Linked DNA regions of Homo sapiens: region 1 is linked to region 2. Evidence: promoter capture Hi-C in 16 types of primary human blood cells and fetal thymus (Javierre and others, 2016). All regions are on one chromosome and are shown on one strand. Each heading gives the region's core, a stretch centred on a gene start or on the middle of the fragment in contact. The rest is flanking DNA. Distances are from core to core; before and after follow the strand shown.

Evidence for each region. The method cuts DNA at HindIII sites, captures the fragments that hold promoters and counts their contacts. A CHiCAGO score of 5 or more calls a contact.
Region 1: a fragment that was not itself captured here is called in contact with the fragment with the promoter of NKAIN1 in region 2 in 1 of 17 cell types (naive B cells); the score reaches 5.0 in naive B cells.

What each region holds. Positions count from the first base shown.
Region 1 is chr1:31,539,103-31,546,487 of GRCh38, forward strand. No RefSeq gene overlaps it. Among named protein-coding and RNA genes, the nearest start is that of LINC01226, 24 kb to the left of the region's middle. The HindIII fragment of the contact is 204 bases long and covers 1,616-1,819 here.
Region 2 is chr1:31,234,766-31,242,299 of GRCh38, forward strand. It overlaps NKAIN1 (sodium/potassium transporting ATPase interacting 1), which reads right to left and starts at 5,122. Exons shown (of 7, transcript NM_024522.3): 1 at 4,729-5,122. The coding sequence starts at 4,782. The HindIII fragment of the contact is 17,944 bases long and covers 1-7,534 here.

The sequences.
Region 1 (7,385 bases), core at 468-2,967, 300 kb after region 2:
CCACTCCTAGCTAATCTTTTTTATTTTTCATGGAGATGGCGTTTCACCTTGTTGCCCAGGCTGGTCTCGAACTCCTGGGCTCAAGCAATCTGCCCACCTCAGCCTTCCAGAGTGCTGGAATTACAGGAATGAGCCACCATGCCCAGCCTACAGTCAATGAAATATTATTCATTATAAAAAAGAAGGAAGCCCTGTCATTTGCGACAACATAGAACCTTGAGGCCATTATGCTAAGTGAAATATGTCAGACAGAGAAAGACAAGTACTATATAATCTCACTTCTATGTGAGAAACATACAGTGATTCTCACATTATCTGTGGAATCTACATTCTATACCTTAAATTTATATAATTCTATTTGTCATGTATACCTCAATAAAGTTGGGAAAATTATGTACAATTAAATGACTTTTAGTATCTTCACAGAGTTGTGCAATCATCACCACACTCTAATGTTTGATGTTTTTGTCACCCTAGGAAAGAAATCTTATACCCATTTTCTCTCCTCATTTCTTTTCTTTTCTTTTCTTTTTTTTTTTTTTTTTTTTTGAGATGGAGTTTCACTCTTGTTGCCCAGGTTGGAGTGCAATGGCACGATCTCGGCTCACTGCAACCTCCATCTCCCGGGTTCAAGGGATTCTCCTGCCCCAGCCTCCCAAGTAGCTGGGATTACAGGCATGAGCCACCATGCCTGGCTAATTTTGTATTTTTAGTAGAGACAGGGTTTCTCCATGTTGGTCAGGCTGGTCTCAAACTCCTGACCTCAGGTGATCCACCTGCCTTGGCCTCCCAAAGTGCTGGGATTACAGGCGTGAGCCACCACGCCTGGTATCTCCTCATTTCTTTAGGTGTTTAAGAAATCATATCAGCCAGGCATGGTGGCTCACGCCTGTAATCCCAGCACTTCGGGAAGCCGAGGCAGGTAGATCACATGGTCAGGAGATCGAGACCGTCCTGGACAACATGGTGAAACCCCATCTCTACTAAAAATACAAAAGTGAGTTGGATGTGATGGTGTGTGCCTGTAATCCCAGCTACTCAGGAGGCTGAGGCAGGAGAATCGCTTGAACCAGGGAGTCAGAGGTTGCAGTGAGCCGAGATTGAGCCATTGCACTCCTGCCTGGAGGCAGAGTGAGACTCCATCTCCAATAAATAAATAAATAAATAAGAAGCCATATCTAAGAAACCCCTGCCTAACCCAAAGTCATAATGACATACTCTTGTGCTGTCTTCTAAGAGTTTTATGCTTTTAGCTCTTACATTTAGGTCTTGGTTCATTTTGAGTTATCTTTTGCATACGGTGTGAGGTAGGAGTCCAGATTCATTCTTTCACATGTGGAAACCCAGTTGTCCCAGCAATAAACAGTTATTCCTGAAGTATTTATTCAACATTCATTCAGATGGAGGTATGTAGAGGGAGGGTAGATGGCTGGGCCTGTGCTAACAGCACTGGACCTCTCTTTTCTGTCCTCAGCAAGGTTTCTCTGCCCAGACATGCAGGATTTCTTCAGCAAAGCAAAAGCCCTGCAGATTACCAGATCCATCCTCTCCTAAAGCCAGAGGGACCATGAGACATTAGTACCTGAGCATCACCTCTCTCCAAGTGATTTATCAAAGCTTTATTTCCAATCACATACTGAGTTTTGATAAAACAGTTTTATTCTTTGGTTTTCTTCTTCTCCTTTTATTTCCTGTGTGTTTTGAGGCCTCAGCAGTTGAGCTGGTTCACCTTGGAATCTGACTCTGACAAGCAAAAGGAAGCAGAGTCTGATCATCTTTCCAGGTAATACAAGAGTGTTCCTGCAAAGTGAGCCTCTGAAGCTTTGGAGGGGAAGTGTATTAGTCTGTTTTGCGTTGCTACAAAGGAATACCTGAGACTGGGTGATTTATAAAGAGAAGAGGTTTATTTGACCTATGGTTCTGCAAGCTGTACAAGAAGCATGGTGCCAACATCTGCTTCTGGTGAGGACTCAGGAAGCTTCCACTCATGGCTGAAGGCAAAGGGGAAGCCGGCATCACATGGCAAGAGAGGGAGCAAGACAGAGGAGGGGGTGCTTCAGGCTCCTCTAAACAACCAGATCTCGTATGGACTCACAGAGTGAGAACTCACTCATTACTTCAAGGACAGCACCATGACATTCATGAGGGGTGCGCCCACATGACCCAAACACCTCCCACTAGGCCCCACCTCCAACATTGGAGGTCACATTTCAACATGAGATTTGGAGGTGGCAAAACATGCAAACCATACAGGGAGGGAGGAGCAGGGTGGTGGATACAGCTGCACAGACTGGGAAATGGGCCAGAAGCAGCTTTCCGGCTTGTGTAGGTGCTAGGAAAGACAGGCTGGTAAGACACAGAATGCCTTTCGGTCTCCAAGCGTCCAGCATGGTCTAGATCAGATCTGCATATAAGGTCATCTTATCAGAAGGGTTCTTTGAGTTCTGGAAACCACACTCTGCCCCTCCACTTTCACATCTGGAATATCAGGACAATATTTGACATGTAGCATACATCGGTTTTGGAGCCTAGGAAATTCCCACCTACCTTCTTCCACCCACTACACTCCTTTCTGTTCCTCCTGATGCTAGGCTTGTTCCCGCCTCCGAGCCTTCACACTGCTAGCCGTTACCTATGCCTGGAATGCTCTCCCCTGGTGTCTAATCTGCCTGATGCTTCCTCATCCTTCAGGACTGAGTTAAATGTCCCCACCTCAGAGAAGCCTTCGCTGACTGCCTTTGCTCCTCCTGGGCCTGGTTGCCCCTAGACCCACTCTCTGCCCCCCAACACTTAGTTCTATCCTGCAGGAGCACTGGCTTCCAGCAGAGAGCAGCTGCTGGGGACCACTGACAGGAGACTGGGAAGACAAGGAAAAAGCCCTCTCCTCTCTGTCCCAGGTGGCTTCTTAGGTAGCGGCTATGTCTTCATGGTTCCAGCTTCTGCAGAGTGGCGTCCGAACCTGGCTTGGGAAATACCGCTTTTCCTTTTGCCCCTCCGGTCCAGGCATGATTGCAGCAATTCAGTCACTTGTCCGGGTTCCACTCCTAATTCTAGTTCTTTTGCTATTTTCACCACATCTGCAGTGACTTCTCCCACTGAAGTCTTTAACACTTCAAAGGCATCCTTGAGGGTTAAAGTCAACTTCTTTCAAACTCCTGTTAATCTTGATATTTTGACCTCTTCCCTGGAATCACAAATGTCCTTAACGGCACAAGAATGGTGACTCCTTTCTAGAATGTTTCCAATTTGCTTTGCCCAGATCCATCAGAGGATCTCTCTGTAGCAGCTATAGCCTTACAAATTGTATTTCTTAAATAATAAGACTTGAAAGTTGAAATGACTCCTTAATCTATGGGCTGCAGAATGGATGCTGTGTTAGCAGGCATGAAAACAACTTAATCTCTTTGTACATCTCCATCAGGACTCTTGAGTAACCAGGTGCATTGTCAATGAGCTGTAATATTTTTAAGGGAATCTTTTTTTTTCTGAGTAGTAGGTCTCAACAGTGGACATAAAATATTCAGTCAACCATGCTGTAAATAGATGTGCTGTCATCAGGCTTTGTTGTTGCATTTATACAGCATAGGCAGAGTAGATTTAGCATAATTCTTAAGGGCCTAGGATTTTTGGAATAATAAACTAGCATTGGCTTCCACTTAAAGTCACCAACTACATTAGCCCCTAACAAGAGGGTCATTTAGTTATTTGAAGCTTTGAAGCCAGGCATTGACTTCTCTCTAGTGATGAAAGTTCTAGATAACATCCTGTTCCAATAGAAGGCTGTTTTGCCTACACTGAAAATCTGTTGTTTAGTGTAGCAACCTTCATCAATGATCTTAGCTAGATCTTCTGGATGACGTGCTGCAACTTTTATATCAGCATTTACTGCTTCACTTGCCCTTTTAAGTTATGCAGATGGTTTCTTTCATTAAACCTCATGAACCAACCCCTGCTAGCTTCCAACTTTTCTTCTGAAGCTTCCTCACCTCTCTCAGCCTTCATAGAATTGACAAGAGTTAGGGCGTTGCTCTGGATTAAGCTTTGGCTCAAGGGAATGCTGTGGTTAATTTGACCTTCTATCCAGACCACTCAAACTTTCTCCATATCAGCAATAAGGCTGTTTTGCCTTCTTGCCACTTATGTGTTCACCGGAGTAGCACTTTCAATTTCCTTCAAGAACTTTTCCTTTGCATTCTCAACTTGGCTAACTGGTGCAAGGGACCCAGCTTTCGGTCTCTCTTGGCTTTTGATAGGTCTTCCTCGCTAAGCTTAATCAATTCTAGCTTTTAATTTAAAATGAGAGGCATGCAATTCCTCCTTTCATTTGAACACATAGAGGCCATTGTAGGGTTATTAATTGACCTAATTTCAATATTGTTGTATCTTTGGGAACAGGGAGGCCTCAGGATGAGAGTGATGGGGGAATAGCTGGTCAGTGGAGCAGTCAGAACACACACAGTATTTATTAAGTTTGCCATCTTGTATGGGTGTGGTTTATGGCACCCCCAAACTTTTACAATAGTAACATCCAAGATCACTGATTATAGATCACCAACACCAACACAGACATAATAACAATGAAAAAAAAAGGTGTTTTTTTTTTCTGAAATGGATTCTAGCTCTCTCGCCCAGGCTGGAGTGCAGTGGTGTGATCTCGGCTGACTGCAACCTCTGCCTCCTGGGTTCAAGAGATTCTTGTGCCTCAGCCTCCTGAGTAGCTGGGATTACAGGCACCCACCACCACACTCGGCTAATTTTTGTATTTTTAATAGAGAAATGGCCTCGAACTCCTGACCTCAAGTGATCCACCTGCCTCGGCCTCCCAAAGTGTTGGAATTACAGGCATGAGCCACCGCGCCTGACCAATAATAAAAATGTTTGAAGTATTGTGATCTCGCTGCTGTTTCCCCACTTGTGCCCAGGCAGTGGGGTTCTGCAGGAGATCTTCTCTGTGCCACCCCTCTTCCCTTGCACCCTCTATGGCCACATGTGAAACACCTTTGACAGGCTCTTCTTGAAGGAAGTACAGCTGCCCAAGCTGAACATAGGCGGTTGTCTGGTCTTCCCCTCCATGGGCACCTACATGTCCTCATTTCATTCAGTTAGTGGCCCCTGCGTTGTTCTAGAAAAGGGTTTGGATGAACTATAGGTGCCTTCTCTAGTGGTGAGAGCTCTGGCTTTTGGAACAAATCCAGGCTCTGCCACATACTAGCAGTGTGGTCAGAGCCTCAGTTTCCCCCCCATGAAGTGAGGATGATATGAGTATCCCCCTTGCAGGGTTGTTGAGAGGGTTAATGCAGATAATGCAAATCCTTGCTGAACATCAGTCCGTGTCCAGGGCCCTGCCTCTGGCAGGCCCTGATCCTGGCCTGACCCTCAGAGGCCGCCCCTGCCTCATGGTCTGGCTGTCCTCAGAGAGCACACACAGCATCTGACCATAGCCAATGGGCCAGGTGCAGGGTGTGCCTCAGAACTCACCTTGGCCTTGAGAAGCCCCCAGGTTGGAAGGTGTGATGAATGAGGTGTGGATCCAGCCAATTCTAAAATAGAGCAGATGCTACAGCATGTCTCCCAGGCACTTTAAAACTTCAAAACTACTATTTGGGGAGTTCTGAGCTCAGAAAGAGAATGTGCCCTACAAGGATGGACATTGTCAGAGATGGGGGTAGGTGCACATTAGGATGACCAGCCACATCCCTGCAGTGCAGGGAGGGCAGTGGGCCCTAGAGGCTAAGACCACCTCCATCCTGTCCCCTTTATAAACTTCACCTGCTGAGGGAGTTATCTGAATGACAGCCTCTGCAAACAATCCTCCCCATCTGCCAGAGTCAGCCCCACCAATTTTGCTGCTACCTCCTCAGCTCAGCCAAGGCCAGAAGGAATCATTCAGCACCCTTGGGCTGAAGAGAATTCTCCCTCAGACATCTTAGGAGCAGGGGTGAACTGCAGATGCTACCCATAGAAGCCAGAGGGGCCTTCAGGCTTCAATGTGTTACTCATCTGGTACCCTCCCAAAGCCTGCAAATTAGAAGTAAAAACATCCACCCTTACCCCTCAGAAGTGTTTGGAAGTACAGATATGAGTGAACTTTAGGGAAAACATAACATTTTATTCAGATGCAAGAGATTCTGGTGTGTTTTGTTTGCCCTATGGGTACTGTCTTATGAGATTGTGGATATCCATCCATCCATCCATCCATCCATGCATGCATCCACCCATCCATCCATGCATCCATTAATCCATCCATCTATGCATCCATTTATCCATCCATCCATTCATCTATGCATGCATGCATGCATCCATCCATCCATCCATCCATGCATCCATCCATCCATTGATCCATACATCAATCCATGCATCCATTTATCCATTCATGCATCCATCCATCCACCCATGCATCCATCCACCCATCCATCCATCCACGCATGCATCCATTTATCCATCCATGCATCCATCCATCCACCCATGCATCCATCCACCCATCCATGCACACATCCATTTATCCATCCATGCATCCATCCATCCACCCATGCATCCATCCACCCATCCATCCATCCATGCATCCATGCATCCATGCATCCATCCATCCATCCATCCATCCATCCGTCCATCCATCCATGTATCCATTTATCCATTCATACATACATCCATTCATCCATCCGTGGATCCATGCATCATCCATTCGTCTTTGCATGAATGCATGCATGCATCCATCCATCCATCCATTCATCTGTTCATCCATCCATCCATCCATGCATCCACCCATCTATCCATTCATTTATCCATCCATGCATCCACTTATTCATCCATGCATCCATGCTTCCATTTATCCATCCATGCATCCCTCCATCCATCCATTCATCCATGCATCCATCCATGCATACATACATCCATGCATCCATCAATCCATCCATGCATGCATCCATCCATCCATCTATCCGTCCATCCATGCATCCATTCATTCATCCATGTATCCATGCATCCATCCATCCATCCATCCATCCATCTATGCACGCATGCATCCATCCATCCATTCATCCTTCCATCCATCCACGTATCCATGCATCCATCCATTCATCTATGCATGCATGCATCCATCCATCCATCCATCTATGCATGCATGCATGCATCCATCCATCCATCCATACATGCATGCATTCATCCATCCATCCGTGAATGCATCCATCCATCCATGTATCCATTTATCCATCTGTGCAACCATCCATCCATCCATGTATCCATTTATCCATCTGTGCAACCATCCATCCATCCATTTGTTCATCCATCCATGCATCCATCCATCCATCCATCCATCCATCCATGTATCCATTTATCCAACCATGCATCTATCCATCCATCCATGCATTCATCCATCCATCCCTCCA
Region 2 (7,534 bases), core at 3,872-6,371:
AAACGCAGGCTTGGACCTGTCTGGGGTCAAGCACTGGTTAAACGCGAGCAGTAGAGTAGCACGGGGCTGAGAGGGTGGCTCTCTGTTCAGACAGAAGAGTCCTCGCATCTTGGTTCTGTCACTGACTAGCTTAGCGAGCTTGGGCAAACGTCACACCCCTTCGCACCTCAATTTCCTCACCTGAAAAAGGGGATAATAAACACATCTACCCCACTGTGTGGAATTGCAATAAGAAGGATGAAAGCAGTAAAAGAGCTAACGTTTATTGATCATTTAACATGCACCAGGCACTTTGCCAAGCACTTTACATATGTATGCTCATTTGGTTAAATGAGGTAATGCATATAAAGTGCTTAGCACAGGACTCCTGAAATGGGAATGATAATGATGATGATGAAGAAATTGATGGGGATTCCCTAGGGCAAATCTCACTGGTTCATCCCCTTCCAGGAAGAACAGAGTGGCCTGTAAGGTTTCAGGAAGGAGGTGAACAAGGAAGAGCTGGGTTTGGAAAGGAGAGAGAAAAGGCACGGGATTAAAAATTAGAGGGTGAATATGTTAATAATGTTGTCAAAATGATACACCAAAAAGAATTCTGGAAAGCAAGGGACCCAAGATGTTCTACAGAAAGGAACCGGATCAAGATGCAACAAAACTGCCATGCCAAAGCCAGGTGTGGTGACATGCACCTGTTGTCCCAGCTATTTGAGAGGCCGAGGTAGGAGGATCACTTGAGCTCAGGGATTTGAGGCTGCAGCTATTTGAGAGGCTGAGGTGGGAAGGTCACTTGAGCTCAGGAATTTGAGGCTGCAGTGGGTTATGATTGCCACTGCACTCCAGCCTGGGCAACACAGTGAGACGCCTATCTCTAAAAAATAAACAATAAATAAACAAAACATGCCAGTCCAGGCACCACCCTGAGTTCCTGACAAGTACAGCTGGCAGGATCCCAGCGAGCCAGACCAATAATGCCTCCCATTTTACAGATGGAAAAACCAAAGCCTAGAGTGTGGAAGAGACTTGCCCCAAATTGCAGGATGTCAGAAGCAGAGCCAGGCTTAAATCCAGGTCTTTTGCCTCTCAGCTCAGTGCCCAACTACCTGCTACTTCCCACAAAGGACAGTCCACAAAGGACAGTGCAGGGGGTCACCTGGATATGTTTGGGCTACAGTGCCACAGACACATCCCATGATATGAATCATTAAGATAATAACAATAAGCTACAGTTTAATGAGTACTCACTCTGTACCTGCCAGAGTGCTAAATTCATTATATGGACTGAGTCCTCACAACAACCCTAAGGATTAGGAACTGTTTTATATTCTCTCTATTTAACAGATGACAAAACTATGTGGCTCAGAGACGGTAAGCAACTTGCCCAAAATTGCATAGCCAGGAAGTGACAGAACCAGGTCTAAAAGCCAGGTCTGTCCTGTCAAACTTCAGAGCCTTAACTACTATCCTACACTTATCCATCTGAAAGGCACAGTCCCTACCTGCTTCCCTTAAACCCCATGGCACCCTCACACCTCACTCCCTCACCCAAATCACATCTATCCCAACTGAGGAAGAATGTTTCGAATTGGCCTGATTCATTGTAACGATTAAACTCCATTTGAGAAAGAAAAATGACACAGTTCCTCCTAAGTTTTCAGCTGAAAGATATTTAACAGCCTCTTTTTTCCCTTCAGTCCCTTGGATGAGAAAACCAAGACTCCCTTCTCCCCTCAGGCTGGTGAATTCCAACATCCCGGGGCACATTATGGAAGCTATCAGGCAGTAGGGGCTCATGGAGGTTAGTGACAACTGGAGGGCCCACTCTGCAATGAGCCCAGATAGTGCAACAGAGCCAAGAGAGCAATTTTCAAGTTCCTCCCGCAAATGATCTTGTGCAACCTTCACAAGCTGCCCAAAGCCACCCAGCCGGGATGTGGGAGAAACCAGAATGCCACCCAGGTCTCATCTAACTCAAGCCTCTAGTGCTGGTGAGCTCCTCTAAGTGGAAGAGTGGGGTTAGCTTAGCAAGGGAGAACTATGGAGGAAGGGAAGTGGGAGGCAGAGAGACACTCTACCACCTTCATTTCTCTCTAGAGCCATGAGCTCCTTCCATGGGGCCCCAGACTTACCAGGGCCAGAACTACTTATTTTATAATTAAGAAGGCAACAGAGGACCTGGCCAACTGCCTGGATTCAAAGCCTGGATCCTGGCTGGATGTGGTGGCTCATGCCTATAATCCCAGCACTTGGGAGGCTGAAGTGGGAGGATGGCTTGACCACAGGAGTTTGAGACCAGCCTGGGCAACAAGAGTGAGACCCACCTCTAAAACACAAAAAAATTAGCTAGGCATGGTGGTGTGCCCCCGTAGTCCCAGGTACTCAGGAGGCTGAGGTGGGAGGATTGTTTGAGCCTGGGAGGTCAAGGCTGTAGTGAGCTATGATTGCACCACTGCACTCTGTCCTGGATGACAGAGTGAGCCCATGTCTCAAACAAAAACAAAAACAAAACCCCCAAAACAAAGCCTGGGTCCTAGTTCCTGTAGAATTCTGGACAAGTTACTTCATAGGGCTGTTAGGATTAAATGAGTTAATACCTGGAAAAGTGCTTCCAAGAGTACCTGACACTTAGTCAAGGGCTCTCCAAAGCTAACCGTTATTATCGCCAACAGAGAATGAGCATGGGACAAACTGCTAACAGGTTCACCTTTGGGGAGGGGTCTAGTTATAGAGAGAAGAAAACTTTTTTTTTTTTTTTGAGACACAGTTTCACTCTGTCGTCCAGGCTGGAGTGCAGCGGCGTGATCTCATCTCACTGTAACCTCCGCCTCCTGGGTTCAAGTGATTCTCATGTCTCAGCCTCTCGAGTAGCTGGGATTACAGATGCGTGCCACCACCCCTAATTTTTGTATTTTCAGCAGTGATGGGGTTTCTTCATGTTGGCCAGGCTGGTCTCGAACCCCTGACCTCAGGTGATCTGCCCATCTCGCCCTCCCAAAGTGCTGGGGTTACAGGCATAAGCCACGATGCCTGGCCTAGAAAACTTACTTTTTATTTATCTGTCCTGTTTGATTATGTATGTATTTATTTTTTACAATATATGTATATTACTTTTCTAATTAAAAAAAACCCCTAGTTTAAAATTAAAAAATTAACAAACACAGAAGAATCCTCTGAAAGGTTTAAACATTTCTTGGCATTTCATGTTCCTCAAAGTAGATAAAGAAAAACAGACAATCTCTGCCCTTCTGGAGTTCCCATTCCACCTGATCTTAATTAATTCCCTCTGCAATCCTCAGGGATAATCATTTTACAGATAAGAAGACTGAGGCCGGCCAGTGGGGGGAAGTCACTTGTCCAGTCTCCCACAGCTGGGAGCAGGGCTACAATCTCCAGAGCTAGGGCTGTTTCCACCACTGCCCAGGCCAGGTCTGTGGATGGCATGTTTGAAGCTGGTGTCCCCAGGAGGAGAGAAGCAAGACGAATGAGGAGGTCTGCATGTCCAGGCTCAAAACTTCACTCTACATTATCATTGGCTCCTGTGGTGGGGAGGGCGTGATGGATGCAGGCAAGAGTGGAAACCCAGAACAAGGAGTCCAGCATGAGGGGGGCTCAGGCTCCTCGCTGCCCACTCTCAGACCTGGGTTCGGCGATGGAGGTCCCCATGCACCTCTGCCTAGAGGAGAAGCACAGCTTCAACCTCCCTAGTTGTTCAATCTCAGCTCTAGGGTAGGTAGGAGACCCCTGCCTCTCCTTAACCACCCTCCCAAATTCCCCTGCCAGGGCCTGATTTGAAGGGCAGTGCTGTTTCTTCTAGTCCACTACAGTCACTCCTCCCTGAGACAAGAACCTGAGTTCCCTATGCTGGGGCTAGGCACAGTGTCCTCAGATGCTCTGGTCCTCCCTAGGGCACCCAAGTGTCCCCATCCCCACTGTTGCTGGCCCCGGCAGAGGAGCTGCTCTGGTGGGTGGAACTGATGACTGATGGAACCCCCATGGCCACAGCGGCCAGACCAAAGCAGGAAGTGTGGTCCAGGCTGGGTCAGGCTGGCCCAGGATCTGGCAGCTCCTGGTGACCCTCTCCAGGGAGGTGGCTCTCCTTTCCCAGGACTGCCCGGTCAGGAAGGTGAAGGGAGGCAGAAACAACACAAAGGATTGGAGGGTTCTTGGAGTCTAAGATCCCAGAACACAGATGAACATGGGCCAGAAATGGTCAGCGATTTAGAGACACACCAAAGAGAAACCCTGAGAGACACACGCCGGAGCAGAGACTTTGTGAGAAACGCTCACACAGGGGTGGTGATCAGAGGCAGAGACCCAGAGGAAGGGAGAGACCCATGCAAACGAGGGATCTAGAGGGAAACACACAGCAGGACCTCAACGGATCCACAGATCAGCCTCAGACACACCCCCAGTCCCAGCAAGCCACCGTCCCACAGCGCATCCCCCAACAGGAGGCCACTTGTACAGTGCGGGCGGGCCGGGGACTCGCGCACAGGACGCACTTGGGGACCGGAGGAGCGCCGGGCACAGCAGCGAGAAGCGCACACAAAGAGACAGCCCGGCCAGCGGGAGCAGGCTCCGCCCGACCGCTCCGAGACTCCAGACCACCCCCCGCCCGGGCACACGCACCAGACACACACACAGAGACACACGCAACCCCACCCGCACGCCCTGGGACCGCGCCCCGCCGCGCCCCACCCTGCCCCGACTGCCTGGGCACGCGACGCTTACCAGCTGCAGGCAGCAGAAGGCGACCAGCGTGCAGCGCCCGCTGCACTTGCCCATGGCTCCGGGGGCTGCGCGGGCCGCACGCCGCGGCGCCCTTCTTGCTCCGCGGCCGCCGCCTGCTCGCGCCGCGCGGGCTCCACGTCCTCCCCGCTGGGCGCGCCGGGCGGCGGGGCCGGGCGCCTAGGGCCGGGCCCGGGAGTGTCCGGTCCCCAAGGCTGGGGCCGGCCGCCCGCGCTCCGAGTCCATGGTCCGTCCGTCCGCGCGCTGGCCCCGCCGAGCCGCGCCTCCTTTGTCTAGCGGGCCGTCCGTCAGGCGCGCCTCCTGCCCCGGGGCGGCTGGCGGGGAGCGCGGAGCAAGGAGAGCGAGCCCCGAGCGCGGCGCAGCGCAGAGCAGCACTGCCCAGCTGGGGCAGTCGCCCGGGCTCTCGTCGGCCGCGGCTTCCCGGCCCCACCACGTGGCTCCGCCGCCGCCACCGACAGGGAGGGAGTTGGGGGGAACGGCAGAGGGGTGGGGCGGGGGAGCCGCCGGAGGGGAGGGGAGAGGGATAGGGAGGTGGAGGGTTGGAGAGGCAGGGAGTGAAGTGGAAGAGTGCGTGCGGGCTTAGGGGACAACAGCCCTGAGTCAAATCCAGACTTTGCTGCTCACTCGCTGTGTGACCTTGGGCAAATCACGTCACCTCTCTGGACCTGTTTTCTCATGAACAAAGTAGGAATAATTATGCCTCTTTAGTGTAGATATGAAGATGAAATGCAGTCATGTGAATAAAGCGCTTAGCCCTGTGCCTGGCCTCCTGGCTTGGAACACTTTTTTGTCCACCCTGTCTCTAGGGCTCCAGGGTTCCAACTTGGACTTCTAGTTCTATTTACGTTCCCAGATCTGCTCCTCACCCCAGCCTCTCCCCTGAGTGTCTGGCCACATTTTTCGCCTTCCTTCTTTCCGTCTACTGGCATTTATTGAGCCCTGACTGCATACACACCCCTGGGGGCCCTGCGAGCCAGAGATGAGACCTGCAACACTGTTCCAAATCCCGTAGAGCTGCACCGCCCAGGGAACAGATAGGCTCCCAAGAGCACGCCAGTGAGATGGGTGATGGCAGAGATCTGCCCAGGTGGAGGTAGGGAGCCCCTACCCTGGGCTGCAGTAGGGACAGAGTCAGAAGTTTCCCAGCAGAAGATTGCCTTCTCCAAGCCACCCCCAAAAGCCCTCGAACTGGACACATCTCAAATCCACATAATCATTCCTGTCCCACTCCTAACTTCCTATATTCACCTTGGCAATTAGCATCACCCAAGTGGAATTTCCTAGGTCATCCTCCAGGCTTCCCTACAATTACATCTGATCTGTCACTACATTCTATAAACTGTACTTTCCAACTAACATTTATGAAATACCCACTATGTGCCAGGTTCTCTGCTGGGGATAAGGGAACAAAACCCGACAAAATCTCTGCCCTCATTGAGCACACAGTCTAGTGAGGGATTGTCATTAAAACAAGGAAATATACAAATAAATACGCAAAGTTCTGATGAATACTCTAAAGAATATTAAAGAAGAAACGTGGCACGGTGGCTCACACCTGTAATTTCAGCACTTTGGGAGGCTGAATCAGCTCACTGCAACCTCCACCTGAGTGGAGATCGGCCTCCCAAAAGTGAGTGGATCACCTGAGTTCAGGAGTTCGAGACCAGCCTGGCCAACGTGGTGAAACCCCATCTCTACTAAAAATACAAAAATTAGGCAGGGATGGTATCAGGCACCTGTAATCCCAGCTACTCAGGAGGTTGAGGCAGGAGAATCGCTTGAACCCGGGAGGTGGAGGTTGCAGTGAGCCAAGACCATGCTATTGCACTTTAGCCTAGGCGACAAAAGCGAAACTCTGTCAAAATAAATAAATAATAAATAAAATACTAAGGGAGAAAAGAGAGAATGAGAGGGGCATAATTTAGGTTTGGGGACCAGGAAACACCTCTTTGAGGAAACGAAACTGATACTGAGACGACAATAGGAAGGAAGGAGAGGCAGGGGAGTGAAGAGTGTTCTGGTGGAAGAAACAGAAGGTTCTTATTCTTTCCCTTCCTCTCCACTCTCACTAGCCCTCTTGATTCGAGAGACAGGAAGTATGGTAAGATGTAGGTTAGGACCCGTGGTTTTGGACCCAAACGGCCTGGGTCCCGGTTCCAGCACTGTCACTTGTTTGCTGCTCACATAGTAAGCATGCAAATAAATGTGTCACTGTTTTCTTCCAGGACTGGCTACATAGTTTGGGGGGCCCAGCACAAAATGAAGATGCAGCACTTCTTGTTAAAAAATTAAGAATTTCGGCCAGACGCAGTGGCTCATGCCTATAATCCCAGCACTTGGGAGGCCTGGCCAGATGACAAGGTCAGGCGTTCGAGACCAGCCTGACCAACATGGAAAAACCCTGTCTCTACTAAAAATACAAAAAATAATTAGATAGGTGTGGTGGCACATGCCTGTAATTCGCAGCTACTCAGGAGGCTGAAGTGGGAGAATTGCTTGAACCCAGGAGGCAGAGGTTGTGGTGAGCTGAGATCACCCCACTGCACTCCAGCCTGGGGCAACAAGAGCAAAACTCCATCTAAAAAAAAAAAAAAAATTAAGAATTTCAAGATGGCAACACAGCAGAGCGTGAAGTCAAGAACATGCAGGGGGCCGGGCGCTGTGGCTTACGCTATAATCCCAGGACTCTGGGAGGCCAAGGCAGGCGGATCACTTAAGGTCAGGAGTTCAAGATCAACCTAGCCAACATGGCAAAACCCCATCTCTACTAAAAATACAATAATTAGGC